Regions from separate parts of the Homo sapiens genome. Here all the other regions are linked to region 1. The links are contacts of gene promoters, found by promoter capture Hi-C in blood cells and fetal thymus (Javierre and others, 2016). All regions are on one chromosome and are shown on one strand. Each heading gives the region's core, a stretch centred on a gene start or on the middle of the fragment in contact. The rest is flanking DNA. Distances are from core to core; before and after follow the strand shown.

Evidence for each region. Contacts are between HindIII fragments. The CHiCAGO score rates a contact against its expected background, and 5 or more counts as called.
Region 2: a contact is called between a fragment that was not itself captured here and the fragment with the promoter of ZC2HC1C in region 1, in 1 of 17 cell types (neutrophils). The highest score is 7.3, in neutrophils.
Region 3: a contact is called between a fragment that was not itself captured here and the fragment with the promoter of ZC2HC1C in region 1, in 1 of 17 cell types (neutrophils). The highest score is 5.6, in neutrophils.
Region 4: a fragment that was not itself captured here is called in contact with the fragment with the promoter of ZC2HC1C in region 1 in 1 of 17 cell types (neutrophils); the score reaches 5.5 in neutrophils.
Region 5: a contact is called between a fragment that was not itself captured here and the fragment with the promoter of ZC2HC1C in region 1, in 1 of 17 cell types (neutrophils). The highest score is 6.0, in neutrophils.
Region 6: a contact is called between a fragment that was not itself captured here and the fragment with the promoter of ZC2HC1C in region 1, in 2 of 17 cell types (neutrophils and monocytes). The highest score is 5.9, in neutrophils.

Annotation. Positions count from the first base shown.
Region 1 is chr14:75,066,537-75,071,574 of GRCh38, reverse strand. ZC2HC1C (zinc finger C2HC-type containing 1C) reads right to left here and starts at 1,934. Exons shown (of 3, transcript NM_024643.4): 1 at 1,826-1,934; 2 at 1-1,020. The coding sequence starts at 1,001. It also overlaps a transcript of ACYP1 not described here. RefSeq lists enhancers at 1,188-1,739, 1,740-2,291 and a silencer at 1,916-2,035. The HindIII fragment of the contact is 2,993 bases long and covers 1,163-4,155 here.
Region 2 is chr14:75,559,669-75,564,706 of GRCh38, reverse strand. LOC107984653 (a long non-coding RNA gene) reads right to left here. Exons shown (of 2, transcript XR_001750830.1): 2 at 4,789-5,038. Among named protein-coding and RNA genes, the nearest start is that of FLVCR2, 16 kb to the left of the region's middle. RefSeq lists enhancers at 2,351-2,430, 4,736-4,895. The HindIII fragment of the contact is 2,358 bases long and covers 1,075-3,432 here.
Region 3 is chr14:75,540,764-75,545,801 of GRCh38, reverse strand. The region is part of intron 2 of BATF (basic leucine zipper ATF-like transcription factor); the gene reads right to left. Among named protein-coding and RNA genes, the nearest start is that of BATF, 21 kb to the right of the region's middle. The HindIII fragment of the contact is 7,175 bases long and covers 1-5,038 here.
Region 4 is chr14:75,521,822-75,526,859 of GRCh38, reverse strand. It overlaps BATF (basic leucine zipper ATF-like transcription factor), which reads right to left and starts at 4,391. Exons shown (of 3, transcript NM_006399.5): 1 at 4,115-4,391; 2 at 1,672-1,776. The coding sequence starts at 4,177. RefSeq lists an enhancer at 4,094-4,423. The HindIII fragment of the contact is 3,061 bases long and covers 783-3,843 here.
Region 5 is chr14:75,498,333-75,503,370 of GRCh38, reverse strand. No RefSeq gene overlaps it. Among named protein-coding and RNA genes, the nearest start is that of BATF, 22 kb to the left of the region's middle. The HindIII fragment of the contact is 4,882 bases long and covers 167-5,038 here.
Region 6 is chr14:75,467,817-75,472,854 of GRCh38, reverse strand. It overlaps JDP2 (Jun dimerization protein 2), which reads right to left. Exons shown (of 4, transcript NM_001135048.2): 4 at 1-3,565. The coding sequence ends at 3,380. Among named protein-coding and RNA genes, the nearest start is that of JDP2, 42 kb to the right of the region's middle. The HindIII fragment of the contact is 2,439 bases long and covers 1,732-4,170 here.

The sequences.
Region 1 (5,038 bases), core at 685-3,184:
CTTGCTACCAGCCTTTCCCTTTTGAGCCTCTGGATTCTATAATCAGAGAACTGGAATGGACCTGAATTTTGTTGAGACCGTCCCCAAGTTTCATCCTCTCTCCTGTCTCTACTAAATTCTTCCTCAAACTCAAATTCTGGGGAGAAGATAGGTTTGTACATGGTGTTGCTTTTATTACCTTTAACTCTGCTCCTGGGGAGTATAATTTTCTGTAGCTCTCCGTTTTCATTTTCCTTGGCCTGTTCCTTTTGCGTCTGGATCCTTCTGAGTTCCTCCTCTGTCTTCTTCAGCTTTCCCCTCAGGAGAATCTGCTTTCTTCGGATTTCCTCCTCTAAGCTCTCCCCTGCAGCTTCTAGTCTTCGGATCTGCACCCACTCCGTCCTGTCAAAGTTTGCCACGGCCTTCTCCGCCTGCGTGGCAGCAAGAACAGTACCAACCACAGAAAAGTTGCCCTGGTTCCTCACACCAAAGTTCCTAGATGAAAACTCTCTCGGCTCAGGGGGCCTTGGGTAGACATTATGGTCCCCATCAGTGCCAGCCTCACCTGTACTGCACGACTTCCTGTGGACCATGGGTTTCAATGGGAACGCCCGGTCCACTCCAACTCGTTTCTTTGTAAAGGGGATAAAGTCCTGGTTATTGGCTTTGGGATACCAGGATTGAGGGCCTGACGAGTAAAACAAACCATTTCCTTGGCCCTGGGAATCACTTTCTGGATCTTGCTGGCTGATTCCAGTACAGTGGGGATAGGAGTAGCTCCGGGCTTTTGTTTGGGTGTTCCATTTGGGGTGAGTATAGACTTTATCCAGAATCAACTCTTTGTTGCTCAAAAGCTGCTTCTGGAAATTGTTCCTCAGGTGCCCCTTCAAGGACTGCTGGGAAGAGTCACCTTGTTCGTAAGAGTCTTGCTTGGCTGAGTGGGGCCCTGGAGCTTCCGTTGTATTATGTGGGAGCATAACGCCCACAGGCAGATGTGACGCCAACCGCTGGAGACCAGCCATTCAGGGCCTGGACTGACGCCTACGGGAGATTTAAACCAGATACACGGGAAGAGTTTGTCTGAGGTTCACTCTCGGCTGCTAAAGCAAACTATTTCTACATTTGCCCTGCCCACATTCCCTTAAACTTTTCTGGGGACAGTGTTGCTGGACCTGCCAAAGCTTCCCTTCAAAAACCATTTGGTGAGTGATTATGCACAAGACACTGTGTTAGGCCCTGAGGGTAGAAAAACGAAGGTGCTACAGGTGTTCCTGCCACCTAGCTTTCCTTTCCTCCAGCACCAGCCTCTGCCACGCACAGTATACTCTATAGTAGGTGGAAAGAGCACCTGACTAGAAAGTCAGGTTCTAGGCCTGTAACAGGACAAGCGACTTCTCCCTTGCTGGCCCCCGTTTCTTCCCCTGTAAACTGAAGGGTTCCCGCAGAGTCCAGCCTCACCATTTTACAGGTGAGAAAGCTGTGGCCCAGAGGTAGTGACTGGCACAAAGAACTCTCAGGGCTTCCCTCCTGCTGGAACCGTGCTTGATTCCAAAGAGCACAAAAGCTGCTAGGGCCTGGAGCAGGTGCCTGGCTGTCAAACCCTCATCCCAGGAGTCCCCGTGGCGCAGACTGTAAAAGTTTTGTAACCTGAGCGTTGAGGGCCACCTGACCTGACCGCGGCCGGTTTTAGATCCTTAAGGCTGAAGTCACGTTTTGTCCCGAAGGGTCAACTGGGGCGCCCCCACTTCGGACTCCACCTCTGGGGACAAGTCCTCTCGCTCTCCTGCCCTTCGGTCCCTTAGGAGGTGGAGGTGCTGATCCCATGTCTCCCCGCCCTTCTGCGTACCTGAGGCCCTCGGGCACCGCTCCTGCTCAGGGAAAACCCCAGGGCCTAGTTTCCCAGACCTGACCTCCCCATCAACCGACAGCCGCGCAGGCGCTCTCAGCTGGCTTCTGTTATTCCCGGTGCCTGGAAACCGAGGCACTGGCGCGCCAAGCTCCGCCCCTCGCCGCGAACTCCTCGGGGAGACGCGCGCAGGCGCAGTGCACCAGCGACCCGGGGCGACCGGGGGTGGGGGTGCGGTCAGCCCAAGGTCACTTGACCCAGTCAGTGTCCGGCCAACTCTGCAGCTCGGTCCAGCCCTGCCCTTGGGGAGCCGGGGAGGGGCGGGAGAGGCTTTTCTGGAGCTCCTTCAAAGAAGAACTTGTACTTTTCTGAGAACGACGCTCCCAGACCTTGGGGTGTGCCCTTGTCTGGCAAAGGGCGGAGGCCCTGGCTGTGCCTCCGCGTGCTTCCGCCGCAGGATGCCGGCGTCCGCCCGCCTGGCGGGAGCGGGGCTGCTGCTGGCCTTTCTCCGCGCGCTCGGCTGCGCTGGGCGGGCCCCAGGTATGGCTGCACGCGCGCGCTCCTTGCTTGTCCTCGCCAAGGCTTTGGAACTTGCTGCCAACGTTTTTGCTACGCAGTATCTTTCCGTGGTAGTTTTTGTGGCCAATCTAATTATTTTGATATTATAATGTTTTACTCACGTGGTAATTCTAGCCGTCTCTACTTAGGGCCCAGGAATGACTCAGCCAAATGTAATGATGATAAAGTTAACTACCAGATCGAAAATAATCAGTATAACCTGGCTTCAACAGTAAATGATACTCTATCTTGTTGACATCAAAAGAAAGTTCATTTTTCTTCTTCGCTTCAGTTCATCTGTGTAAGCCGTTTGGAACAGGCAGTTCGCTTTTTCCCTGTAACTACTCAATTCATGCACATGGAAAATAATGTAGACAGCAGTCATCAGTGTTAATACTTCAACATGTCATATTACAGCTGTTACCCGTTACAAGGAAATTCCTTGGTGGACCCTCCAGATCAGTCTTTTTTTTTTTTTTAATTCCTCGTTTTCATCCCTAGTTGACTCTACCGCCTCTCCGTATATGCAGCTCCAGACGTTTCCCACTCCACTCAGGGTCCCGATTATCAACTCCCACAGCTTCCCTCAGCAGAATTTACCGGCTTTCTTTTTCTCTTTCTCTCTCTCTCTGTCTCTCTCTCTTCTTCCTCCTCTCCCTCTCTCCTCTGTTTCTGTCTCTGTCTGTCTCCCTCTCTCCTCTCTCTCTCTCCTTCCCTCTCCTCTATGAGAAAGAAGGGCGACTTTCCATTGAGTTCCATTGAGTTCTCTTGAATTAGTCCTTTTCAGTACCCTCCGGGAATTGACTCCATCACTTTACCCCTGCATTTTTGTTTTGTTTTGTTTTCTGTTTTGTTGGTTTTTGGGGTTTTTTAAAGTTGTTTGTTTTTTGTTTTTTGAGACGGAATCTCGCCCTGTTTTGTTGCCCAGGCTGAAGTGCAGTGGCGCACTCTTAGCTCACTGCCACCTCTGCCTCCTGGGTTCAAGTGATTCTCCTGCCTCAGCCTCCCGAGTAGCTGAGATTACAGGCGTCTGCCACTACACCTGGCTAATTTTTTGTATTTTTAGTAGAGACAGAGTTTCACCATGTTGGCCAGGCTGGTCTTGAACTCCTGACCCCAGGTGATCCGCCTGTCTCAGCCTCCCAAAGTGCTGGGATTACAAGCATGAGCCACCGGGCCTGGCCTTTGTTTTTGAGACAGGGCCTCACTCTGTTGCCCAGGCTGAAGTGCAGTGGCACAATCACTGCTCACTGGAGCCTCAACTTCCACAGCTCAAGTGATCCTCCCACCTCAGCCTCCCGAGTAGCTGGGACTACAGGTGTGTGCCCCCCACACCCAGCTTACTTCTTTTTTTTTTTTCTGTAGAGACAGGGTCTCCCTTTGTTACCCAGGCTGGTCTCAAACCCCTGGAGTCAAAAGAGATCCTCCCGCCTCAGTCTCACAAAGTACTGAGATTATAGACGTGAGAGACGGCACCCTGTCTGCATCTTGTTAACTTCAAGTTATACCTCTCCATAAACTCTGTCTCTTTGGTTTTAACATATACTCAACTTTCCCCTGCAAAACAAACCTTACTTCCCTTGACCTAACTTTCATATTACAGTCCCATTCATTTCTCCTCTTCTCCACAAGACTTCTTAATGGAAATCTCCACATTTGCTGCCCACATATCCTCATCTCCCCGTCATTGTCCAGTTCATTGTGGCCTGTCTTCTACTTTCTCCACTTTATTTAACTACAAAGCTACCAGTGACTTTCCAAAGACAAAAGCTTCATTTTTTCAGCCTACTCATGTGACATTACTGATTATCCACCCACTTAGAATGCTCTTCTCAGTTCTCCTGTGCCCTCTTGGTTTCTTCTTTCATGTTCTTGCTCCATCTTCTTCCAAGTCTGGCATTTATCTTTTCCCCATCTACTCCCTAAATTTAAGTGTTTTCTGAAGCCCTCTTATTTCATATATATGTGTGTGTGTGTGTGTGTGTGTGTGTGTGTGTGTGTGTGTGTGTAGTTCCAGACATTCTCTTCTTTAATGATTTCAACCAAATGCTGAAATTTCAGGTTTCACCTGTGTTTAAATGACAGCCAGCTTAGCTTTAGTCTTTCTCATTAGTTACAGACTCAAATTTCAGGACTGCCCATTTGACACCTCCACAAGATTGTTCCTTAGGAACCTCAAATTCTGTAAGACAACATAAACTCTGATCCTCTCCCATTCTCAAATCTGCCTCTCCAGTGTGCCCTTGCATGCTCACAGCATCAGTCTTCCATGCTTCCCTCTTTGTTGCCTCTTCCTTCTAACTAATCACAAGTTTTATTGAGTTTTCTTCCTTTTTTTCTTTGAGACAGTCTTGCTCTGTCATCCAGATGGGGGTGGAGTGGCGCGATCTCAGCTCACTGCAACCTCTGCCTCTCAGGTTCAAGCAATCCTCCTGCCTTGGCCTCCCTAGTAGCTGGAAGTACAGGTGTGCACCACCACGCCCAACTAATTTCTGTATTTTTAGTAGAGATGGGGTTTCATCAGTCTCAAACTCCTGACCTCAGGTGATCCACCTGCCTTAGCCTCCCAAAGTGCTGGGATTACAAACGTGAGCCATCACGCCTGGCCTATTGAGTTTACTTCTGCAATGTCTCTCATATATGACTCTTCCTTTA
Region 2 (5,038 bases), core at 1,004-3,503, 490 kb before region 1:
CAAAAATTAACTGAGCATGGTGGTGCACGTCTGTAATCCCAGCTGCTCGGGAGGCTGAGGCAGGAGAATTGCTTGAACCCAAGAGGCGGAGGTTGCAGTAAGCCAAGACGGCACCACTGCACTCCAGCCTGGTGACAGAGTGATACTCTGTTTCAATAAATTAAAAAATAAAAATAGAATAATTAGTTCTTTGGTGTTTGTTTCCCCTGGCAGACTGTAGGCTCCATGAGGGCAGGTGCTGGGTCTGCTTTCTTCTTCGCCCCTTGGTTACTCCCTAGCAGAGTGTCTCACACAAGTCAGTGCTCAATACATTTTGTTGAATGAATGAATCAATAAGCAAATGGAATGGACAGCAGGTGCAAGAGAAGCATCAGGGGAGGCAAGCTGATTCCTAAGAGCTGCAAAGGAATAGGGCTCATTTCAACTTAGAATCCAAACCAAGGCACTTGCAGGCACCTGGTGGGTGATAAATACCTTACATCATAGGAACAAAGTTCTAAGAATAGGATTTCAGTCATCAGTCAAGGTATAAAAGAGGTTATTTGTTTTGGGAAAGCAGGCAGAAAGGTTCATATGTCCTGAGGATCATATTCCCTGGCTGCCAGTCATCTCACACAGGTTTGCCTAATCCTGCATTTGCGGCCCTCAGAGGACACGTGGCTACTTTAGCATGAAAGCGTTTATTAAACAGACATTTTTATTTATTTGTTTGCTGTTGAAGCGTTTCAAGCATTTATTAAAGAGGCAGGATCTTGCTCTGTCACCTGTGCTGGAGTGCAGTGGTATCATCATAGCTCACTGCAGCCTTGAACTCCTGAGCTCAAGAAATCCTCCCAATTTAGCCTCCTGAGTAGCTAGGACTATAAGAATGCACCACATACAGCTAATTTTTTTTAACTTTCTTCTTGTAAAGACGGAGTCTCACTATGTTGCCCAGGCTGGTTTCCAATTCCTGAACTCAAAACAATCCAACCACCTTGGCTTCGCAATGTGCTAGGATTACAGGTGTGAGCAACCGCACCTATAATCAGAAGGACATCTTTAGAGTACATCATTTAAAAAATCTATTAAGCTTTCAACCTTTTAAAAAATGTTATCAAGTAATGTACATAACATAAATCTTCATCCAGTTCCCGAACCTCTTTGCATCCTTCGTCTCCACTCCTTCCTGCTCACCATTAATGACACATTGTGTCAGAGTGGACAGATGGAAACGGCCCGAGTCAAAGATTCTGCCTCACGTGGAGTAGGCTTTCTCCTGGGAGTGTGAGGCCCTCCTGGCTCACCACACTGTGGCGACCTGGGAGCTTCTGCACTCCAATCCAATGCCGATGTCCTGGGCCATGCTTGCTACCAGCAGCTCTGTTTCTTGAGTCTTGGGTGACTGCTGTGTTGACTGATGAAGAGTTTTTATCTAAGGGTCTACGAATGGGTTTCAGAATCCTGCAAACCCCTGAAATCATATCATCCAAATTGATTAATACACATGTGTTTTGGCTGGGCATGGTGGATCACACCTGTAATCTCAGCACTTTGGGAGGCTGAAGGGGGTGGATCACCTGAGGTCAAGAGTTTGAGACCAGCCTGACCAACATGGGGAGACCCTGTTTCTACTAAAAATACAAATTAAATTAGCCAGGCGTGGTGGTGCATGCCTGTAATCCCAGCTACTTGGGAAGCTGAGGCAGGAGAATCACTTGAACCTAGGAGGTGGAGGTCGCAGTGGGCTGAGATCACGCCATTGTGCTCCAGCCTGGGCAACAAGAATGAAACTCTGTCTCGAAAAAAAAAAAAAAAGAAAGAAAGAAAGAAAAAAGAAACATGTTTTATAAAGGGAGAGGCGGGGGAGTCCACAGTTTCATCAGATAGTCAAAGCAGCCCAATGACCCCCAGATGAAATAAATCACGGTTTAGATGGATAATCTATACATTTCAGGTTTAAAAATCTACTTCGAGCTTGTCACCTAGTATCTGCCCTGACTATATACACTGTGCTAGGTGCAGATCTGACTGTTGTGTTTATTTCATCACTATGGGTAACTAAAGTGGATTTCCTGACACAAATTATGCAGGACTAGACAGAGACATTACTAGATTAATTGTGGACAGGGTGAGGCACATATTTGGTGAGACCACTTTGCCTTCTAGAGGTGACCCTTTATTCTCCATTTGCAACAAGATTCTGAGAGCCAGGTCTGAATGAAAAATTTTAACCCGTGGCTTCTATGTTCCAGGTGATCTTGGACTTAGGAGAAGAGAGAAGACGCTGAAGGAGGTGTGGAAAGCTCAGGGAGTGGGAATGGCTTTCCTTATCTGCCCATCGATCATGTCCGTGCTTCAGTTGAGACTGAAGTCACTTGGCAGCCACACGTTTTAGACTGAGGTAACTCCCCACTGCCATAAAGGTCAAGAAAGCCACTGTGCTGACACAGGTCCTCCCCTGACAGCCTGTTCCACAGCGACCCTTGAGTCATCATGTCTGGATGACTAGGCTGACAAAAACAAGGTTTCACAGGGTGAGTTGAATTGTGGGGGAGCGGGGCACAGCACAGGGCAGCGGAGTAGGAAGGGCACTGCACTTGGAGTCTGAAGATCAGGGCTGAAGGCCTTGCTCAGTGAGCTTGGGCAACATGTGTTGGTGTTTGGGCTTCACATAAAATTAGACACTATTCACAATAGCAAAGAGACGGAACCCATCTAAGTTCCCATCAGCTATAGACTGAATAAAGAAAATGTGGTACATATACACCATGGAATACTATGCTGCCATAAAAAGGAACAAGATCATGTCCTTTGCAGCAACATGGATGGAGCTGGAGACCATTACCCTGAGCGAACTAACACAGAAATGGAAAAACAAATACTGCATATTCTCACTTGTAAGTGGGAGCTAAGGACACAAAGATAAGACAAACAGACACTGGAGCCTACTCGAGGGTGGAGGGCAGGAAGAGGGTGAAGACTGAAAAACTACCTATCAGGTATTAGGTACTACGTGTATTACCCGGGTGATGAAATAATCTATACACCAAACCCCCGTGACATGCAATTTACCTATGTAACAAGCCTGCACATGTACCCCTGAATCTAAAATAAAAGGAAAAAAGATAGGGCAAAAAGGAAATGAGAGGCTGCTATTAACATGTTACCGGGGAGCTAGCAGGTATTCAATGATTGGGACTGTGCAGGTACAACGTAGTTATCACCCTAAAACAGGATGTAGCCAACATCCTGTTCACGGCTACCCGGAGTTTCACAGTAAAATATCTGCAGAGCTTGTGTTTGGAAACCAGGTTGATGCCCAAATCTGTGCAGATTTGCATTCCTGGTCACTCACCCAAACATCTCTTCAGAGCTATGCCCTAGGATAGAGTGAGGAAGCTGAATGAGGCGCCAGCTTGCATCTAGAGGTCAATTCTCTGTATTCAAGCTTCTGCCCAAACAAGTGATGGTTGGCTGCCATGGTTCAGGACTCTCTCAAGCTGGGAAAGGAGGATGCAGGAGGGAGGGGGAACGGAGGAGAGGGAGGAAAGTTGATCTCTGCAGTTCTCTGTCACTAGGTGGCAGCACCAACCCGGGACCGCTGTCCCAATGGTCCTGGCTGTAATCCTGGAATGTGGGGAGTTCCCCAGGTGCGCTTGCGCTTGCTATATATAGCTCCAACTTTGCAAGCAGCCAAAGAGAGGTTGAGTCCCATCTCCACGTTTAACTGTGTGACCTTGGGCAAACCATTTAGCCTCTTCGGAGTCTTTCTTTATCTGTAAAATGGGGATAATAATCTTTCCTAAAATAATAGAGTGAACAGAAAATGAGATCATAAATGGCAGCCAGTATCATCCCTGCCCCTAGCAAGATGACCCCTCACTCTTTCATACATCACCTTTATTTTGCACTTTTCTTTTCTTTCAAGGGTGCCCCTAATGCTTATTTTAAATGAGCATATGTAGATGAACACTTTGGGGTGGGGGAGTGAGGCGGCAGGAGGAATGGTCCATGGTGTGATTTTTTTTTTAGAACAGACCCAACTTTTTAATCTTCCTTCCCCTCCTTGCACCCATTCTCTTCCTCTTCATTTTCTTTCTTCTATCTTGGGATTTTTATTTACAAATATGTTAATCATCTGCTCTGTGCAAACCTCTGGCGAGGCAGAGACAGGTGGGGAAGAAGAGGGAGAGGCGAGGAGAATTACAAGAACACACTGGAGAGTCCCTCCCTCCAAGACCCCCACAGTCCTGTAGGTGCTAAGCTGATAGCGAGATGGTGCGCACCGGTGCAGTTGAACTGGCTGTTGAAATATTAAAATATGTACATCTGGCTGACTGATAGCCCCTACCCTAGTGCCCCTCCATGCAACAACGCAGACGCATGCCTTCACCCTGCTCCAGCTCCGACCCCATTCTGACTGCCAGTGCCTGGCCTGGATTTTGAATATTGCCTTTTAGCTGATGGGCTGAGCTCCTCATAGAATGGACTGAAGAGGATGGGGAGTGAAGCCTGGAGGCTGAGTTGCAACTCCCAGTGATGGTTTTCAAATTAGAGCCTGGGGTTCCTTCCAGAAGCAGTAATGGGTAGTATCCAGGTTGGGCAATCCAGAGGCTGGTGTGGTTCTGGCTGCATGCCCAGTTTCTGGTGGAGCACAGAACACCCTCAAACCCTCTCAGAAAGCAGTCTACTCCTGTTAGCCCCTGAGAATTAGGATGCAGTGCCCTGCCCCCTCGCCCCCTCTCTGGGAAACCCAGGTACAATGAGTCACCATTTTTTTGGTTTCACAATAGAAGCTTACTCTGGTTGACATCAGCAGTAAATGAATGTATTGGAAGGATGTATGTGGCTCACAGAATTCAAAAGAAGCCCAGAGAACAAGGCCCAGAACAAGGCAGAAGCCAGGACAATTCTCCACCACAGGAATTCTCTCTCTGGCCAGGGCTTCACAGTTAGAGTAGAGGGGCTCCAAACATCTTCTGGGTCTTTTCTTTGCTCTGCTCCAAAGCGAGATTCCCAGTAGTCTGATTGGCCCAGTCTGGGTGTTTGGTTGTAT
Region 3 (5,038 bases), core at 987-3,486, 470 kb before region 1:
ATGCATGTAGGGGTCTCTGTGAGGGTGTGTGGGTGGGAGGTGGCGGGAATACAGCAAGGGAAAGCAGCTGGCAGGCCAGAGCCTAAGGAAATGGAAGGTCGTTTGTGAGAACGTCTTACACCAGTTTCACTCTTTTCCACTGTGTTATGCCACGTGTTTTCCAAAAGCTCCCGGTGTCTGCATTTCGTCTTACAAATAAAGTCACTGGATACTTGTCTACTGCACCCAGATTCTAGAATGCTCAGGGTCTTTATAAATAGTAAATGGGGCCAGGTGCGGTGGCTCATGCCTATAATCCTAGCATTTTGGGAGGCGGAGGTGGGTGGATCACCTGAAGTCAGGAGTTCGAGACCAGCCTGGCCAACATGGTGAAACCCTGTCTCTAAAAATACAAAAAAAAAAAAAAAAAAAAATTAACCAGGCGTGGTGGTGCACACCTGTAATCCCAGCTACCCGGGAGGCTCGGGGAAGAGAATTGCTGAAACCCAGGAGGCAGAGGCTGCAGTGAGCCGAGATCATGCCACTGCACTCCAGCCTGGGTGACAAAGCAAGACTCCATCTCAAAAATAAAAATAAAAATAAAAATGAAATAAATAAATACTAAATGGTCAAAGTCTGCTACAACGTTTTGTTCCACCCTGTCCGGCCTACCAGAAAGCATTCTGACGGTATTTTGGGGGTGTCCCAAGCCTGTGAGCTTCTCTTTTTTCTGGAAACTCTTTTCCCTGTTGCTTGGGGGAACCATCAAATACATGCTAATCAGAAAAATGCCTGCTAAGAAGTGCTGATTTCTGATCACATCATTAATTAATCAACAATTGCAATCTGGTAATTAGCAATTATGGAAAAGCAATCCCATCCTCAGAAAGCCCAGGAGATCGCAATTCCGGTATAATTTTAAGGTTTACATTATTCGACTCAACCAAACAGACTTTCTCTGCTAAGCATTGGTAACCACAGAGGAAAGGCAAATATCATTGGAGATGCAAAAAAAAAAAAAAAAAAAAAATTTCAGTTCAAAAGGCAACCTGATATTTGGAGACCAGGTCTTACCTTTCTAAATCTATTTGGATTAGGTCAGTATTTCCCAAACTTGCCATATCATGAGAATTAATTTGAAGGCTTGTTAAGAATAGAATTTCAGGCCCATCCTAAAATCTAGGAATGTGAATCAGTGGTTTTGGGATTTGCGGAGTGAAGTCTGCAGATCTGAATTTTTTTTTTTTTTTTTTTTTTTTTGAGACAGTCTCACTCTGTCACCCAGGCTGGAGTGCAGTAGTGTGATCTTGGCTCACTGCAACCTCTGCCTCCCAGGTTCAAGCAGTTCTCCTGCCTCAACCTCCCGAGTTGCTGGGATTACAGGCAGGCACCACCACGCCTGGCTAGTTTTTGTATTTTTAGTAGAGACGGGGTTTCACCATGTTGGCCAGGCTGGTCTTGAACTCCTGACCTCAGGGGATCTGCCCACCTTGGTCTCCCAAAGTGCTGGGATTACAGGCGTGAGCCACCATGCCTGGCTGCAGAGCTGAATTAAAAAAATAATAATAATTTTTTTTTTAAATCCTAGCCACTAGACTACTAGGGAGTGAAATTTGGATTTTTAACTAGTGCCACAGGTCATTCTAATGATCAGGCAAGTTGGAAAGCACTAGTTAAATATTATTTTAAATTTGTTTTAATTATTCAAGCACTTATTAAATGCCTATTTGTTAATGCCTGGCTCAATGCCTGGCACATAGTATGAACTCAGATGTTTGTTGACTGACAGACTTATGACATCATCTGCTGGAATGAAGAAGGTAACTCAAAAATAGGGTGGGTGGTGAGCAGATGTAAGATAACTTGACATTTAAAATTTGCCCTAAATAGGCTGGGTGCAGTGGCTCACACCTATAATCCCAGCACTTTGGGAGGCCGAGGTGAGAGGATCGCTTGAGCCCAGCAGTTTTTTGGTTTTTTGGGTTTTTTTTTTTGAGACAGTCTTGCTCTGTCTCCCAGGCTGGAGTACAATGGTGCGATCTCAGCTCACTGCAACCTCTACCTCCTGAGAGCCCAGGAGTTTAAGACCAGCCTGTGCAACATTATTGAGACCCAGTATCTACAATAATAAAAATAAAAGAAAATTAGCTATGGAGCACCAGGGGTTGGAGGCTGCAGTGAGCCATGATCATGCCACTGCACTCCAGCCTCACTGATGGAGTGAGGTCCTCTCTCAAAAAATAAAATAAAATAATAAAATAAAATTTGCCCTAACGAATCCATCAGGTGCATGAGCTGTAGGCTAATGAGGTTAATCGGTTATACTGTCAATCATCTTAAACCCCACATCCTGGGGGGGGTCTTTCTAAATGGCAGAGAAGCATATACCAACATGGCCTTGCTCATCAAGCCAGGTTCCATCATCTGTGAAGGACAGACACAAGCATGCTCAGCCTCAACCTGGCATTTCTTGAATGGGGCTCTGAGCTAGAAAGTGTGCCAAGGTCAGTACAAAGGAAGCCCCTCTAAAACGGGGCAGAGGAGTTATCAAGAGCCACGATGATGGAGTCACAGCCCTGCCTTCTGCAAGGTGTGGCCGGCTCATTCATTTTACCATTTGGGTATTTCCTGGCACATCCCAGAAGGAGGGCATCCCCTCTTTACCGAAAGGTAAGATCAAGCAACACGATGAGACTAGGGGGTGTTGGTAAGACGGGAACTGGGGGCCGGGAGTCCTGGCTCCTTCCTCTAGCCCTTTTCTTCGCCCCCTCTGAGAGTTTCCACTGGTGACAACATTTACTGTAAATTCTGTGCTCTGAAGAGCCTGGGCAAACCCCGAGGCAGAAGGGAGGGCCACTCTGACCTTCTCCCCGCCTAGAGGCTGGCCCAGCTTTCGGGAAGTGACAGCGGGTCCTTCCTCCCTAAGCAAGCTCTGCTGAGCTCACTCTAGCTCTGTCGTCTGCCTCCCCCTCCCTGGCTTGCAGATCCCAGAGCTCTAGGCAAAGTTTGTAACCGCTGCCTGCTGCCTCTAACCAGAAAACCACCGCCAGTGATAAGAAACTTGTCTTTACCTTGGGAAGCAAGAGTGCTTCCTGCTAGGGCCCCCAAGAAACCTGCCCTGCCAGCCCAGGGACCGTGCAGCCAGCCTGACACTTATGAGAGAAAGGGTTTGACTTCCCTTGCAGGAGGAAGTGGCTGATCTGGGGCCTCGTCCCTCCATGTCCCTGCTATTGCCCAGTCCCCTCTGGCCCTCCTTGGGGCAGTCATGCCCTGGAAAGGGCTCGCCCAGCTGAAGGGACAACTGGCAAAGGTGGCATGAGAGCAGCTGTTTATCCAGAGGTACAACAGTGACATCCCCTAACAATGAGGGCTGGACACCTAGAGCACAGTGAGGCTGGGAGGAAATGCAGCTTCTCCCATATGCATGTCTTCTGCTACTGAGAGGGGTGGGGGTGAGCCTGCATTTGGGCATCCATGTACCCATCTTTCTCCTATTCAGAATTCATCCAGGTCCATCAGACTCCTCACAATAACGCTCTGTGTGGGATAGGGAAGGTCAGCTGTTATTATCCCCACTCTACAGATGAGGACAACTGAGACCCTGGGACAAACCTATGCCACATACCCTCCAAAATGACCACAGGCTGGTGACAGCTGTGCTATAGGATTCACCTCAAGGCACTTGTTTTCTCAGAAGTTCAGAAACTTTGAGTGTTTGATGCAAAGACTCATTGCCCGCGAGGGAGGCGCAGAGCAGGGCTTGGCTCGGGGCCCTGTGTTCCTTCTCTCACACTGACTGCTTCCCCCGAGAGACTGGAGACTTGAGTGGGCAAAGGTCTCCCGAGAACACTAGAAAGTTGGCCAGGTGCTGTGGCTCACGCCTGTAATCCCAGCACTTTGGGAGGCTGAGGTGGGCAGATCACTTGAGGTCAGGAATTCAAGACCAGCCTGGCCAGCATGGTGAAGCCCTGTCTCTACAAAAAATACAAAAATTAGCCGGGCGTGGTGGCGCATGCCTGTAGTCCCAGCAACTCCGGAGGCTGAGGCAGGAGAATCACTTGAACCTGGGAGGCAGAAGTTGCAGTGAGCCAAGATTTTACCATTGTAGTTCAGCCTGGGCAACCCAGCAAGACTCTGTCTCAAAAAACAAAACAAAACAAAACAAAAAAATAAGTCCTTGGCTACCCTGTTGTCTCCCAGGAGAAAGCTGGGTCTCGGTTTTGGTGACCCACACACAACACAACACAACACAAGATCCCTGAGTCACTCACATTCTTCCAATCATAGAGCTGACCATCTGCCTCCTGGGCTGCATGGAGAGGGGGTCACCTGGCCAGATATTCTGGACAAGGGCTGACTCGAGGCCAGACCTTCCTCCAGACACAGAGCCAGGTCCTGAACTCATGACCACGGTGAGCTCCATCAGCGGTAAATGGGAATAGGAACTTGGGCCCTGGTCCTGGCTGGGTGATCCTCAGTGACTCGATTTCCCTATTCAGCTCCAGTTGCCTCACTTTAAAATGGAAAGACTGGACCAAAACAATGATTCTCAACCTCATCCACACACTGGGGTCCCCTGGGGAGCTTTAGCAATCCTGATGCCTGATTCTGATCTAATAGGTCTAAGGTGTAACCTGGCTCAATTTATACGAAAAAGGTGGATAGAAACCAAAATTTTTTTAAAAAAATAGCCTAGGTTAACTTAACTATCATTTATTTGTTTATTTAATTTTTGAGACAGAGTCTCTCTCTGTTGCCCAGACTGGGAGTGCAGTGGTGCAATCTCAGCTCACCGCAACCTCTGCCTCCCTGGTTCAAGCAATTCTCCCCACCTCAGCCTTCTGGGTAGCTGGGGTTACAGGTGCCCGCCAATACACTTGGCTAACTTTTTGTATTTCTAGTAGAGACGGGGTTTCACCATGTTGGCCAGGCTGGTTTTGAACTTCTGACCGCAAGTGATCCGCCTGCCTCAGCCTCCCAAAGTTCTGGGATTTCAGGCGTGAATCATCCATGCCTGGCCAATAACTAACATTTATTGAATACTTCCGTGTGCCAATCA
Region 4 (5,038 bases), core at 1,064-3,563, 450 kb before region 1:
AAGAATAGTGAATCAGAATCAGACTCTGATAGAGAAAGAGGTAAGGATCATAGATGTTCAAGCTTAAGGTGGTAAACCAGAATGTGGGGACACAGTGAAATCATGGAGAACATACAAGCAGCAGGGCCACCAAAAACTTGACATTCAGACTGTTGAGCACAGTTAGTACAGACTTTCTGTTCATTCATTCTTTCCAAAAAGTTAACAAATAGCTGTGAATTTAATGTTAGTGTGCAATGGAGTGTAAGCTGAATACATTTCAAATAAAACCCAAGCACCCAATCAGAGCTGTTGGTGCAGTCTGCTCTGTTTCCTTGTAAAGCTGAAAGATGCATTATTTCCCCTAAAACTACATCTTACTTACTTATTCTTGATACGGTTAACACAGCCATTCTAACTGGCTGATTATCATGCTAATCTTCCAGATAAATACAAGCTTATTGATTTTTGGTGCCAATTGCACTTTTTCCATGGAAAGGAATTGCTAGGCTATTAGAGGTAAGGGAATGTTTCTGGAGCAAGGGCAGGAAGGTAGAGTTGCTAGGGAAGGGGATGAGGGGATGGAGAGAAAGGAACTAGTGAAGAGTTGGTTGAACAAGAACCATACTGGGGGCAGAGTGAAGAGAGGTAAGGTGGTAAGGTATGAGCAATGGGGAGGAAGCAGTACTTTATAAGGGGCACAGCCAGAACCTAGAAACACCATCTAGGGCCTTGGCCACTGGCGGAACTGCAGTTCAGCACTGCTCAAGGCCCCTGGACCACTCAAGACAGAGGTAAAAGCTTTCTCTAGAAAAATTTGGGACTAGAGGCAACTCAACTAGGATGGTGATCATCCCAGATAAGGGCACTTGAAATTGCATCTTTCATAGACCCCTTGGGATACCATTAAAGACAGAAATTTCAAAATAAGACTTTAATAATGCTCTGAAAAGAGGAATCTGGTACAGCGCCCTGTGAATTTCCTTGTGTCAAATGCAGGGGCATTTGGGTCTCTGCCAAGGGATGCGACTATGTGTGGTCCTTGCACTGCGAGACAATGGGCCGTCCCCAAAGCACTTGATACCTTCTAAATTCTTTCCCAATACAGCTCTGCCTTCTCCCACCCCTTGAGCCCTCCTGGGGTAGAAAGGCCCATTTCTCTGTTCAGCCTCCTGGCCCATTCCCTGCTACAGAGCCTTCTATTTTTTTTTTTTTTTTTTTGAGATGAAGTTTCACTCCTATCACCCAGGTTTGAATGCAATGGCGCGATCTCGGCTCACTGCAACCTCTGCCTGTTCAAGTGATTCTCCTGCCTCAGCCTCCCAAGTAGCTGGGACTACAGGCATGCACCACCATGCCTGGCTAATTTTTTGTATTTTTAGTAGAGACGAGGTTTCACCATGTTGGCCAGGCTGGTCTCGAACTCCTGACCTCAGGTGACCCACCCGCCTTGGCCTCCCAAAATGCTGGGATTACAGGTGTGAGCCACCACGCCCGGACTACAGAGCCTTCTTAAAGCACTCTCACGACAGCTTCCCTTCCCTACCTCACCCCACGGCCCTCACCCTCCACTAACCCACCCCACATACACATCCCCACACAAGCAGAATCAAAGCTATGGTCCAAGGGTTCCCAGATGGCGGAGGGCAAAGCCTAAAGCTCACGAGGATGAAGATTGATCTGAACACTTACCAGGTGCAGGGTGTCGGCCTTCTGTGTCTGCCTCTGTCGGCTCTTCTGGGCGGCAATACGATTTTTCTCCCTCCTCTGAACTCTTCTCACATCATCAGATGAGTCCTGGGAAGCAGAGACGGGGAGGATTACATGGGTCTGCATCTCCCTTCTGAGTGAAAGCAGGCTCTGGTGGTGTGTGGTATCCGTCCAGCCATCCTTCCATGCCTTCGTCTCTGCATGAACCCTCCATCCCTCTATTTACCAAAAGCCTGCACCCGAAGGAGAGCTCTTCTCCATGCCTGCTTACACATTCCCAGGTCTCTGACTTTTTTGACCAATAGCTACAGGAAAAAGAAAAGAGAACTTGAGGACTCAATAGAGCTGTATTTGGCCAAAAAAAAAAAAAATGGTTAAGGCGATGAAGTGTGTTTTATCACCTCTCCTCTGTAGGGCTGCTCCACCCTCGCCCTCTCACTTTTTGGCCTTTAGGCTCTTCTTGCTGTTCTTTTAGCTGTTTTCTTTTTTTCAGACTTTGTTGAGTGCCTACTATATGCCAACCTCTGGGCAAGTGTTCTTTCAGAAGTGCTCTTGTTTAATTCCCCAATGCTGTGAAGTTGATATCATCATTTCCATTTTATATGTGAGGAAACTGAGGCTCTAAGAGTGTGCCCAAGGACTCCTGGTCATCTGAGAGTGCTACATCTTCTGGTGCTGAGCCCAATGGCTTTCCAAGACCCTTCCCCGCTAGCTACTCTGCACCCCATGTGGTCTTCTGCTGCATTCCTGAGCTGAGGGTGCATCCCAGATCTGCCTCCTCTTTCCTTCCGTTGTGCTCAGCCACTGTGACATTCCCCATGGCCCCAGCACAATGCCTGGCACATCAATGCCAAAAAGAACGTTAATGGTGGAGGTGACCTGGCTGTGGTGGGCAGTAGATGGGTGCTTGGTAGGATAAGGGGATCTTTGGGTGTTCTCTAATTACACCCAGAGAGAGGCATGTCCTGTGCCTGGGCAGAGAGGTTAGCTCCAGTTCTCTCCCAGATGCTGCAGTGTAGGTGTAGGAGTCCTGGCAACTCATGCCCTGTTCCCTTCCACGTCTCCCACAGGCTAGAGGGGCACAGATCCAAGGGCAAAGCTCTGGGATCACTAAGTACTGGGCTCACCAACATGTCCAATACTTTCAGGCCTTTGTGGTAGGAGGTCATTGGCATAGATAGGAAGGAAGTGCTCTTCCTCTAAGGGGGATGGGGCACCAGGTTACCATGGAAGCCATGAGTAATTTCCTTCCTAAGAAAAGTACAAACTTCCAGGCAGTCAGAGCCACTCTGACACCATCTTGAGCAGCAGACTGGATTCTGTGCCTTCTAGAGGTCTCCACCCAGACTCATCCCAGCCTGCTGCTCCGTTATTAGAGGCTTAGGATATACGCCCTGTTCAATATTTATATACTTTTATTTTGGCTGCAGCATTTTGAAAACCCTTGTGGATATCTGTGCTAAGGAAAGAATGAAGTTTTTAAACTATGAAGGTTGAGAAAATTTTAACCCACGGATACATGTCGGATGAGAAAGAGGAGGGCTTCCTACAGCAAGGGATGTCAAGAGTGTGGTGCAGAACAAAACCCTAGAAGCTGTGAGATGGGCAGGGCACTCCTTTTTTGGTAATCCTCAAGCTAAAACCTTTGGACTTGGAAGTCACAATCTAGACTCCAAATGCTCCCACAATCCCTATCTCAGTCTCTCTGGTTTCCCCAGAGCTAAGATGAACTACCAGCAAATGTCTTCCAACAAATTTCCAGAGCCACCTCCTCATTCATTTCCTTGCTCCTATCCAGAAGCCACAAGCAAAGAGATATTGGCTGGACCTCTAGCATCTCCCCTTGCTGGCTGTGCTAGCAACAGAGGCAGTGCCCCAGTAGAGAGATCCTTCTATGCTAGCCTGGGTTTCTCCTCCTCCTCCTCCTTCTTCCTCTTCTTCTTCTTCTTTTTTTTTTTTTTTAACTTTTCCCTAACCCCTTTTCTCCCCTTCCCTATTGGCTGTCTCCTGGGAAACTGCATATCTAGGATTTGAGCTGTGCATGCCAGCGGCCCACTTGAAAACTCCTCTCACTTTTCTACAGCCTTGGAGAACAGTAGACTCTTTTCTCTGCATTCTTTGATGTTCATCCTCCTCTTTGCTTCCTAGAAAGCTTTTTAGGGTGGCAACCCCAGTGAGGCAGAGGTGATAGGCAGCCTTGGAAAATGGAGAGAAAAAGGGGCTTTGGCAGAATGGGTGGAAGGATGAGGATCTCTGCCAATATGCACAGCTTAGTAGCAAATTCCATGTCCTAAGTCTAACAGAGTGCCCGTGCAACGAGCCACTTCCTCCATCCTCAGCTCCCTGGGCAGGACAAGGAAGCCTGGCTCTCTTTCCATCCCCCAGGAGAATCAGAAGGTAGGAGAGAGAAAAAGGAGGACTCTACCTGTTTGCCAGGGGGAGGAGAGCGGCTGAAGCTGGAGTCACTGCTGTCGGAGCTGTGAGGCATGGCTGAAATCTTCCGGGCTCTCACACTCAGCCCCAGGCACCTCTGGGCTCTCTTGTCACCAGCTGGGCTCCCTTCCTGACTTCTCCTGGGCCACCAGCCCACCACCCCCTACAGGTGCCTCCTCTGCCTGCCCTGTAGCCACCTCTGACCCCTGCGTCCTCCTCACTCTGGGGTGCAGAGGGACTGCTCCCCAAAGGGACATGTCGCTCGCTTTGGGGCTTGCACGCTCTCTCTCTCTCTTGTGGTTTCTGGTAACTCACGCTGGAAGTCACATGGGCGGAAACTTCAGCGAGTTAGAAGTTAGAGAGAAAAATACATATCTGGGAAAAGACCTACAGAATTATGTGAAAGAAAAAAAAATACAGATACCTTCCGACAGTTTGAAAGACACAGCAGCCCTCTTCAATTGATGAAGATAAAAGAGAAAAACAGCCCAGGCAGGGAAAAACCCCAGCCAGAATTAGCAAGTCCGTCTTCTGTCAACATGGGCAGAGAGGAGAGGACAACCAGGAAAATGTTTCCATTGTCATACGACTTGATTTTTAAACCAAAATAAAGCAAAAACACTGGGATTTCTTTCTGGTTTTCAGCCGAAAGCAGCTGCTCACCCATCTTGTCTTTCCTCACCCCTTAAGTCCAGCCAGCCTCGGGGTGGTCTGGAGATAAGACGATCCAAGGGTATTCTCCTTTCCTGACCATCAAACACAAGGGCTGTGGGAGATCAGAAAGCCACAAGGGAGGTTCTAGAATTGCTGCTCTGAAAGCCTATTAAGCGCCTGTGCTGCTTGGCAGGGAGCTCACACTCTTTAGAGAAAAGATGCCTTCCATATTGAGCAGCTCAAGACAGGCCCTGAATCTTTA
Region 5 (5,038 bases), core at 1,358-3,857, 430 kb before region 1:
GAAAATAGATGCACCAGTGGGCTTTCTAATTCCATTATTATCTAAAGATTACTCTTAAAACCCCCTCACATCTCTAATCCAAGACAGACTACTAAGCTCGTGTGCTTCACGTGCCATTGAGATGACAGAGAAGACATGCAGAGAGAAACAGATTCATAACAAAGCTTAATAATGGGAGGGAGAAATGTGAGCAGGTCAGGAGACAGCCTGAATAATTTCTGGGTAAGAGAAAATGAAAGAACCATCGTGAGAGAGAAACCATGGTGGAAAGAGCCTTGGCTAAAACTAGTAACGTGCAAGTGCCAAGACTGGAGTAGAAAACGGAGCAGAAATGAAGGTGGGCATCAGGGTACTGCCTCAAGTTGCACCATCCAACATGATAGCCACTAGCTACATGTGGGTATTGAGCCCTTGAATGTGGCCAATTAGTTCTATTAGAAGCAGAACTAATCAATTTTATTTTTATTTATTTATTTATTTACTGAGCCAGAGTCTCGCTCTATCACCCAGGCTGGAGTGTAGTGGTGAGATCTCGACTCACTGCAACCTCCGCCTCCCGGTTCAAGCGATTCTTCTGCCTCAGCCTCCAAAATGGCTGGGATTATAGGTGCCTGCCACCAGGCCCGGCTAATTTTTATATATTTATTAGAGACAGGGTTTCACCATGTTGGCCAGGCTGGTCTTGAATTCCTGACCTCAAGTGACCCACCCGCCTCAGCCTCCCAAAGTGCTGGGATTACGGGTGTGAGCCACTGCGCCTGGCCAGAACGAATTAATTTCAGATGCGCACTGAAGTATTTAAGAGTGATGTGTCATGTTATCTACAAGTTATATATAGATAGTATCTTAGATGATATTATTAAATTATTGTTAAATTCCTTAGGTGTGATAATGACATTGTGGTTATGTCCTTGTCTTTAGGAGATGTACACTGAAGTACTTAAGACTGATAGGTCATGTTCTCTACAAGTTATTTTCTAATGGCTTACAAAGAAATATGTAAGAGTGTGTGTGTGTGTGTGTGTGTGTGTGTGTGTGTGTGTTTGTGTTTAAAACTGGTGAACCTATTACAGAATGGAGGCTCACTGTTCTAGTATAGCAACTTTTTGATTGATTTGCTTTTTTCCCCAAAAATTTTTAAAAATGGGTGATAAAATGCTACATGATCATAGTAGGAAAAGTTTATGTTATTTTGTCACCAAGATGAAACAAAGGTGACTCCAGTAAAAATCTATATAGAAAGTTGTAATTTGAAAAAGAAGCAAACCAAAATGTAATACAATTTTATGCAATTGGTAGATTGTAACAATAAAAAAAATCCATTTGACATTTGATCTTGCAACAGTTCCCTTTAGGCGGCTCAGTTTGAATAGCATAGGATTACATTTGCTTGTCTGCAGGTCAAACCTCACTATTTAGATTGTCACTAAAGAATACACAATAAAATTATTGTAATTACTGTCTTCTGTTTTCAATTCTTAGGAACAATCTTTGAATAAAGCATGGAAGACTAAGTTATAGTAAAGTAATATAATAAAGTCATGGTAGAATAAAAAATGACAATGTTATTTATAGTGGTGTTTCTTCCGGTTTTAATTTTATTATTATATTTTCTTGTTTGTATGTTTGAAATATTTCACAGTAAAAAAAATTAAAAGTAATTGTTTATTAGCTGACCATAATCAGAAATAGAAATAGGAGATACAGAGAAGGTATTTATAAGTTCCCCAGAGAACAGACTCTGAGACTCTAAGACTTGGGTATAGGGAGGTTGTTGGAGAGTGTTCTCAGAAACATCACCTGTGAGAGTTGAGGGAGCCAAGACCAGGCAGGGGAGGAGTGAGTAGATACAAGGCCCCAGTCAATGCTGCAAGAAGTTTGGGAGGAGGCAGATGGCTCTTCAAAGTTGCTCCATTGAGGCCAATAGGCTGGCTACACCATTATAACACATAACCCATACTGACCAGTCACTGGATATGGGCTGCCCTCTGGGAGGTGGCATAATCTCTCACATAATCTCCAGGTAACTCCCTTCAGCCAAAAGCAATTCTTGGAGAGGGACTCAGCTGAGACCTCTTAGCTGCCAGCACTCCCCAAAGTTGGGGAATCAAGGCCTTGGTCCTGAAAGGGATCTGGGCAGCACGCCACACCACAGTGTCCATTACAAGGCAGAAGGAAGTCTGCCTTGTGTATTTTCCTGAACTTACACTTTGTAAGTTAGACATACTGTAAAAGGTGACGGGCCAAGAAATTGAGATGTAAGTATATTATTTAAAGTTATAAAGATTCCGATAGACTTAATATAAAAATAAAAATTGGGAGGGAGAACATGCGGTGAAATATAACTGAGTTAAATTCCTCAATATTCAAAGTATAAAGGAGTTTTCAAACAATCTTTAAAGTAGATAAACTAAGAGAGAGAAGTATAAACATATTTTAGAATTCTGCCTATAACCACAGGAGGACAAAACCTAGATCTGATTTTAAATGTTTACGTCTAAAGAGTCAGTCTAGGGGTAGGCCGGGAGATGTGGAAAACTTATGTTTTCTTTATCCTTTTGTAACTGTTTGAAATTTTATTACCACACACATGAACCATTTTTATAGTAGTTAAGAACAATAGCAACAACAACAAAAAAATCTCCCCCTTAGGAGCTGCTTGGAAAAACTTTCTCCTTTTATCTCCTTCCAACAGATAAACTGATTCAATCTGGACTCTCACATCTTATTCCTGATCCGAAAGTGTTGCCCGGAAAGCATAAGATGACCAGGCTTAGATAATACTCTACAGTTTTGTTTTTAATTTTAATTTTTTTTTTTTTGAGACGAAGTCTTGCTCTGTCACCCAGGCTGGAGTGCAGTGGCATGATCACAGCTCACTACGGCCTCTGTCTCCCAGGTTCAAGCGATTCTTCTGCCTCAGCCTCCTGAGTAGCTGGGATTACAGATGCGCACCACCATGCCTGGCCAATTTTTGTATTTTTAGTAGAGATAGGGTTTCACCATGTCAGCCAGGCTGGTCTCAAACTCCTGACCTCAAGTGATCTGCCCACCTCGGGCTCCCAAAGTGCTGGGATTACAGGTGTGAGCCACCATGCCCAGCCTTATTTTTTTTTAATTAAAATTTAAAAACCATTTAAACCTATTTACTTATTTACCATTGTATGCCCTGCAGTTTTGAGTGAACATCCTAAGGCTACCCTTTTGTGAGTTCTCCTTTTGGTTTAGTCCTGGCTTGGTTAGCAGAACCTAAAAGAATAGCCACTTCCAAAAACACGCTGGTAGGAGGTGAGGTTCCAAAGCCCAGTCCTGCCAGCTCCTATGGTGGGAAGAGCGACTGGAGCCTGGGGCCCGGGACTCCTGGCAACCCCAGCTCTACAAATGGCTGTGGGACTCTGAGAAAGCCTCTCCCAGGCTCAGGCGTCATCTGTGGAGTGGGAATAATAAAAGTAGCCACACGCTTTGTTGGGAGAGTTCAATGAGATGATGACTAGAAAGCGCTTAGGCCTGAGCACGTGGTCACCGCTCCTTAAATGTCTGCTGTGTTGGTGTCACTGCCGCTACCTTTTAGTTGTCACCGCTGCTCCTGGATTCCTCTGAAAAAGCTCAGGGAGACGCCATCTTCAAGCCTCATTAGGCATCTCCTTTGTGAAGAGCTCAGCCCCAAGGGCAAAATAAGGTCCCAGTGCTTCCAACAGTCCCTACTCTCAAGCCAGAGACAAAGAGAACAACGTCAGAGTCAATTCTCTAACTACCTTAATGACACTGAGAGCTGAGCCCTGAGCCCCGGGAAAGTTCCTGTGATGTGGTTGGAAAACTCCGTATCCCCTACTCAGCATGATGTCTCCGCCATTTGCTGGCCTGGATGTCCTGGACCCAGACAAAGCTCGACCATTTTCTGCTGTGTATGGTGTTCAGGACAGATGGTCCAGGCAGAAAGTTCAGCTCACTCTACCCAAAAATTTCACAGCAAGACCGCAGCTACGTGAATTCTACATTTTCTGTTGACAGCCCTGAAACCATAAAGTCCAGGTTCCAGTTGACTTAAAAAAAAAAAAAGAAAAGCACACGGTCATGGTGGTGTGCACATCCAGAAATTCAGACTGCGGGTCACCAGGCCCAGGGGCTTCTAGATGTTTAGTCTAAGGCAACAGAGTCTGGGCCTGCTACTGAGGTTTCTTGCTCTGAATCACCCAGCACAGAGGCAACCAGCAGTGGCTTTGACAACCCAAGCCACAGTTACACATCTCGCTGATTCTGAGGAAAGGGATGGTCCTCAAACTCTCTGGGGGCTCCCAACCTCATTTATAGAGCAGTTCTCTTGTATGTACAGTGGGTTGTAGAGCCTATTTCAGAATTTCTATGTCTACTTATTTTTATCCAAAAGTAATAAGAAAGAAATTAAGCTATGATCATATTTAATAATTAGTATAAGAGCAAACATCTATTTTGTAAATAAATATTTGTATACTGTCTTGTAAGCAATTATACATATGGTTTGTTTTTTTTTTTGAGATGGAGTCTCACTCTGTTGTCCAGGCTGGAGTGCAGCAGTGCCATCTCGGCTTACTGCAACCTCTGCCTCCTGGGTACAAGCGATTCTCCTGCCTCAGCTTCCCGAGTAGCTGGGATTACCGATGCGCACCACCATGCCCAGCTAATTTTTGTATTTTTAGTAGAGATGGGGTTTCACTATGTTGGCCAGGCTGGTCTTGAACTCCTGACCTCAAGTGATCTGCCTGCCTCAGCCTCCCAAAGTGCTGGGATAACAGGTGTGAGCCACTGCAGCCAGCCCTGTATTTATATTATATACAGACATGTACAAATATTTTTGCATGCTAAAAAATTTAACAGGGGGTGGGGTGGGCTAAGGCAGTGTGTCCCAGGCCATGGGTCCCTGTGCAAAATAATTTCTAATGAAATTTATAAATTAAAAAAATTCTTTTAATTTAACAGATGGAATGGATAATCCAGGAGGATTGGAGATGGCAGCTCTGCAGGACAAAGCCCCCACTCCCTCATGTGGTCCCTCTTCTTT
Region 6 (5,038 bases), core at 1,702-4,201, 400 kb before region 1:
AGTCTGCGATCCCAGGCATTCATCACACCATAGGGACCACGTACAGGGTCAGAACACAAACTTGGCAGCCCATCTTTACAGAATAAAACATATTTAAATAACCTGTACTATGTAGATATCAATAACTACCGACACTAACAGAGGACAAAATAATTACCATTTTAGGGAGCTTTTATTTCACAAAACACTTTGTATATCCATTCCTTTTTTGATCTTGATAACTCCATAAAAAGACTTGGATTATTACTGTTCCCACTTCACAGATAAGAAAAATGAGGTTCACAGCTAGTCAATAGAAGATTACATCATGAACCCGTTTGCCTTTAAGGTGTGTCTTCTGTGAACACCCTTGGAGATGGTTTGCCTGAGACTTGGGAATTCTTAACATGTACTGTGAGCACAGGTGGGTCTGTGCCATCTCTCCCGGCTTCCTGCACAAGTTCCCTGGCAACTGAGGTCACACCACAAACACATTTTTCCTCTCATGGGGAGGCTCAGCCTCAGGTTTTATGCACCTGAAGTCAGACTGACAATAACATCTTGGCTCTGCCACCTAACACCTGTGACCTTGGGCAGGTTACCTCTTCTGTGTGCCTCGGTTTTCTCATCTGTAATGTTGGAACGCTAGCACCTACCCCCCAGTCAGGGTGCACAAAGCAGTTGAGGTCACACATGCACAGTGGCAGGTGCCCAGAAGAAACTCAAATGCTGGCTCTTGCAATGAAGCCTATAATTGTGACTTCTAGCCACAGGAGCAGCCAGTGGTCCTGGTGAGGAAGGCTCCGCACAGCACAAGTCACTGGTGTGGTGACTTTGGAAGACAGCCCACCTGCACAGGCTAAGGAGGCTCTATTTTGGAGATGCCAGCTCCCGGTGGCCAAGCACAGGACCAGGGAAGCCACAGCCAGTGGCACACGGCAGTCCTGTAAGAACATCCACTAGGTCACTGGAGGGACCCTGGTAAGTCCACTTCATTTTTCTCATGGCTTGAAAAATATCAAAGGATTACAGCGCGAGGGGTTCCTGATGCAGAACTGACACTGCCTCACCTGCATCGTCCGGACCGACAGCCTCAAGACCCCCGAGACAGAAGGCAACCCGCTGCCACAACCTTCTGCCACAGCTGACAGTGAGAGGACCAGGTCCTGTTTCTAGGGCGGGGTGCAGGGGAGTCCACACCAAGTGTGTTGGGTGGAGGGAAACTGAGAGGAGTGAGCGAGGGAGGGATCACAGGTGTGTTAATCACCATTCTCCACTTCTGCCCATCCCAGAAGGCCTCGTCCACAATTTGGGAAGCAACCCAGGTTCACTGCTGTTCTTGACACGAAGTCATCACCAGCAACTAGTTATCCTAAGTCCAGGGATGGAGGAGAAAGAACACATGATTAGAATGCAGGAGTCAAGTTTAGTTGGGTAAACTGTAGCCTTTGCAAGCTTCAGTATACAAGGAAGCTAAAAACACCTCTCCCGCCTTCCTCATGCGTGACATGCCTTGAGAACTGCCGAGTGCCAGGTACACAGCAGGCACTGAGTGAATGCCACTGAGCTGCTCCGGCCCTGGGTGGCAGGGATTCAGCTGTCGAGGTGAGGGGGCAGAGAAGCCATCCACACCCTTCCCTGGGTCAGACACACATTGACCAGGGTAGTTGGTTCACTCTGTGATCATGGGACAACCTGGAACTCTATCCAGCCTTCCCAGAAACTAAATCTATAACTGTGGCCTCATAAGCTTCCTATTCAACCATGAGGACAATCATAGTGGGTTGGTGACAGGAGGAGAGTCACAGGCCTCTGGAGGGAGAGTTCAAACACCAGCTCTATCCCTTGCTAGCTGGGTTACCTTGGATAAGTCGCTTACCTTCTCTGAGCCTCAGTTAAACCATCTGTAAAATGAGAAGAATCGTGCCTAGTTTGTGCTCTTGTGAGAAGGGAAGAGACTATGTCTGCTTGTCACAAAATAAGTCTTCAACAAATGGTGTCTGCGAGTTTAATTCCCTGGACCTCTAATTCGCCATCTGTGAATTGGGGACAAGTGCTGTTCCCTGGCAAGGCTGCCATGAAGACGAAATGAGACAACTTATGGAGCAAGCACAGGATTCACTCCTTACTGGAGGCCCCACAAGGGCAAGACTTAGGTCTGTTTCATCCTCCAGTGAATTCTCAGGGCCTGGCACACACAACAGGCCCTCAGAAAACATCTGCAGAGTGAGCGAACACTCTGACTGCTCTCAAAATAGTAACTGCAGGTGGCTTAATGTCTCTGAGCCTTAGCTTCCTCATCTGTGAAATAGGAGAGCTGTTGTGAAAATGAACAGGCCTATAGCAGAGGCTCCAAACAGTCTCCGACCCTGAGAGGGCCTTGCACCCATTCCCCAGGCAGACACCACGCAAGGCGGCTATGTAAGTAAGAGCAATGTTTACTGAGCGATACAGGACTGAGTACTATGAAGGGTTTACAAGGATGGAAATGCACCCCGCCCCCGCCCTGGCCACCCCCGACACCCAGAGACTACAGTACTTAGGAGTTACACACAACGGCCGTAACTGGTGGCTATCTGTTCATAACAAACAAACCATAGCATATTTATACTGTATCACATCGAGTGATTATAGAAATCCATATATATATTGCTTGTATAAAATCTTTTTTTTTGTAAAAAATATTAAAAAAAAAAAAAAAAAGGAAAGTATAAAAAACATGTGCAGTTGAAAGCCCTGCCAGGACAGCCAGTCTGTAAACATTCGGTGAGTATGTGCTTTGGAAGGGCGCCCGCGCCTCAGTGCCCACAGCAAACTCCAGCAGGGCTGGCGAGGGTGCGCCCGGCTGCCGCCTCCTGGGCAGGGCCGCGCTGGACCGAGGTGGGTGGGGGCATCAGGGCCCCGCAGCACGCCCCTCTCCAGCTTCGCATCAGGGCGAGGGGCAGGGCTGGGGGCAGGTGGGTTGCAGTTTCATTCTGAGTTCCATCCTCAGCCGCGTTTTGGTTGCAACTCATGGCTTTTCCTGGCTGTTCGGAGGTTCCTTGGATGGGTGCCCTGGTGAAGAGGCCAGAGAAGAGCCCAGGGCTGCCTCGTTGGGCGTCTCCCTGGCCTCGGTGCCTCTGTCCTGCCTCCTTCAAGTGGGGCCCCAGGCAGGACAACCCTACCCGAGGGTCAACTTTGGTCTCAGCGCTTGGTCCCTCTGGGTTTCCTCAGCCCGCTCTTCCTCCTGGGTGGCTGATCTGAGTTTCACAAAAAAGCTCGGCTGATGCTGGCTGTGCTGAACCTCATTGTACAGTTTTTCATGCACCAAAGGAAGGGCCATCTGGGGCCCCCCTCCTCCTCTCTCTTCGTCACTTTTCCTTCTCCTCTTCCTCCTCCTCCACCTCCTCCCAGCCCATGGTCACTTCTTCTCGAGCTGCTCGAGCAGTGGGTTGCCTTCTGACTCGGGGGTCTTGACACTGTCGGTCCGGACGATGCAGGTGGGGCGGTGTCGGTTCAGCATCAGGATGAGCTGCTGCCGCTCCTGCTTCAGCTCCTCAATCTGGGTCTTCAGCTCTGCGTTCATGAGTTCCAGCCGCTCGGATTCCTGTATACCAACACAGAAGCACGCTGTGAGTTTCACGGGGACTGGCTCTGGGGAGAGGCTCTGCCTGTGGTTAGGCACAGGGCACGCTGGGCTGGCACTGGCCTGTTTTCTGCAGGAAGAAGCACAGACCCTGCTACTGAGCCCCTGGCTAACTGACTTTCTGCAGGCAGTGCCTGCCACAGCGGTGACACTGGCCTGTGTCATGTCCAGGTTATATTCTAGGGCCAGCCAGACTCACGTCCCACCTCTCTCCCCTCCCTCAATCCACCCCAGCTTCAGTGACCACCTTGCTGTTGCTCAAATATGCCAAATACTCTGCCGCCTCAGGGCCTTTGCACAAGAAAGAAAGGGTGGGCAAAGAAAGGAGGCCAGGTGGACCTAGAGCAGGTCTACGGAGCAAGCATGGGGGGGCCCAAGAGGGGACCCAGATGGCAGTGTAACGGCAACGTGCTTTGATGTGTGACAGACACATGTGGGAGATATCTTGGCCGGTGGGATCAGTGAGTGTAGTGTAGTCATGTCATTCCTCCTAAAACATGTGCTTCCTAGCTATTAGTCTATAATTATTTCAATAGCCTCTTCCTTATCCCTATAATCTGGAAGCTTTGCCCACAGACAGGGAATCAGCAGTCATCCTGCTGGATCCCAAATGAGGTTTCCAATAGACCTTGAGTGAGATTTCCAGGGAACTTCCGGCTCAGCTGGAGAGGTTCCAGGGGAAGGAAGGAATGTTGACGATTTGATTCGGGAGGTGGCGAGGGTTACATGTCCATCGTGTAGATGGGAGATGGGCATATCGATTCAAGGCTTGGGGGATTGAACAGTAAAACAGCATCTGAATGATTTTTCTTGGATTATGTCTGAAAACTTTGAGACTTGGCATTTATTCGAGGGCCAGCAAAGTTTCAGACCAGTGGTTCTCAACTAGGACTGATTTTTGCCTCCCAGGAGACATTTGGCAATGTCTGCAGACATTTTTGATTGTCACAACTCAGAGGGAGCTGTGCTACCAGCATCTAGCAGGTAGATGCCAGAGATGCTCTAAACACCCTTCAATGCACAGGCCAGCCCCACAAGTATTTAGTCCAAAATGGCGATAGCGTAAGAGATTGAGCAACTTGTATCAGTCAAAGAGCAAGCAGTAGTTGCAACTGCGTATGTGACAACCAGAGGGCCCGTAAGCCCATAAGCCTGCCAGTCCTCCTGGCAGGGTACAGGTGGAGCGGCCTCCCCAGGGGGTCCCCAGAACCCTCAGTGGGCCCAACCCTCTCCCTCCAGGGGTCCCGTCTTCCTCCCACAGCTGGTCTGACCGAACTGTTCCTTGGCTCATCTCTGAGGTGGCAGCATGAGTGCCCGGGAACTCTGAGACGGGCAGGCCTCGTGACCAGACGCTGAGAGAAAACAGCCTCACTAAAGGAAAAAAAAATGCTCGGGGAAAATATTAAAAACCAGCTCTGGTGGTTTTTGGTTCCA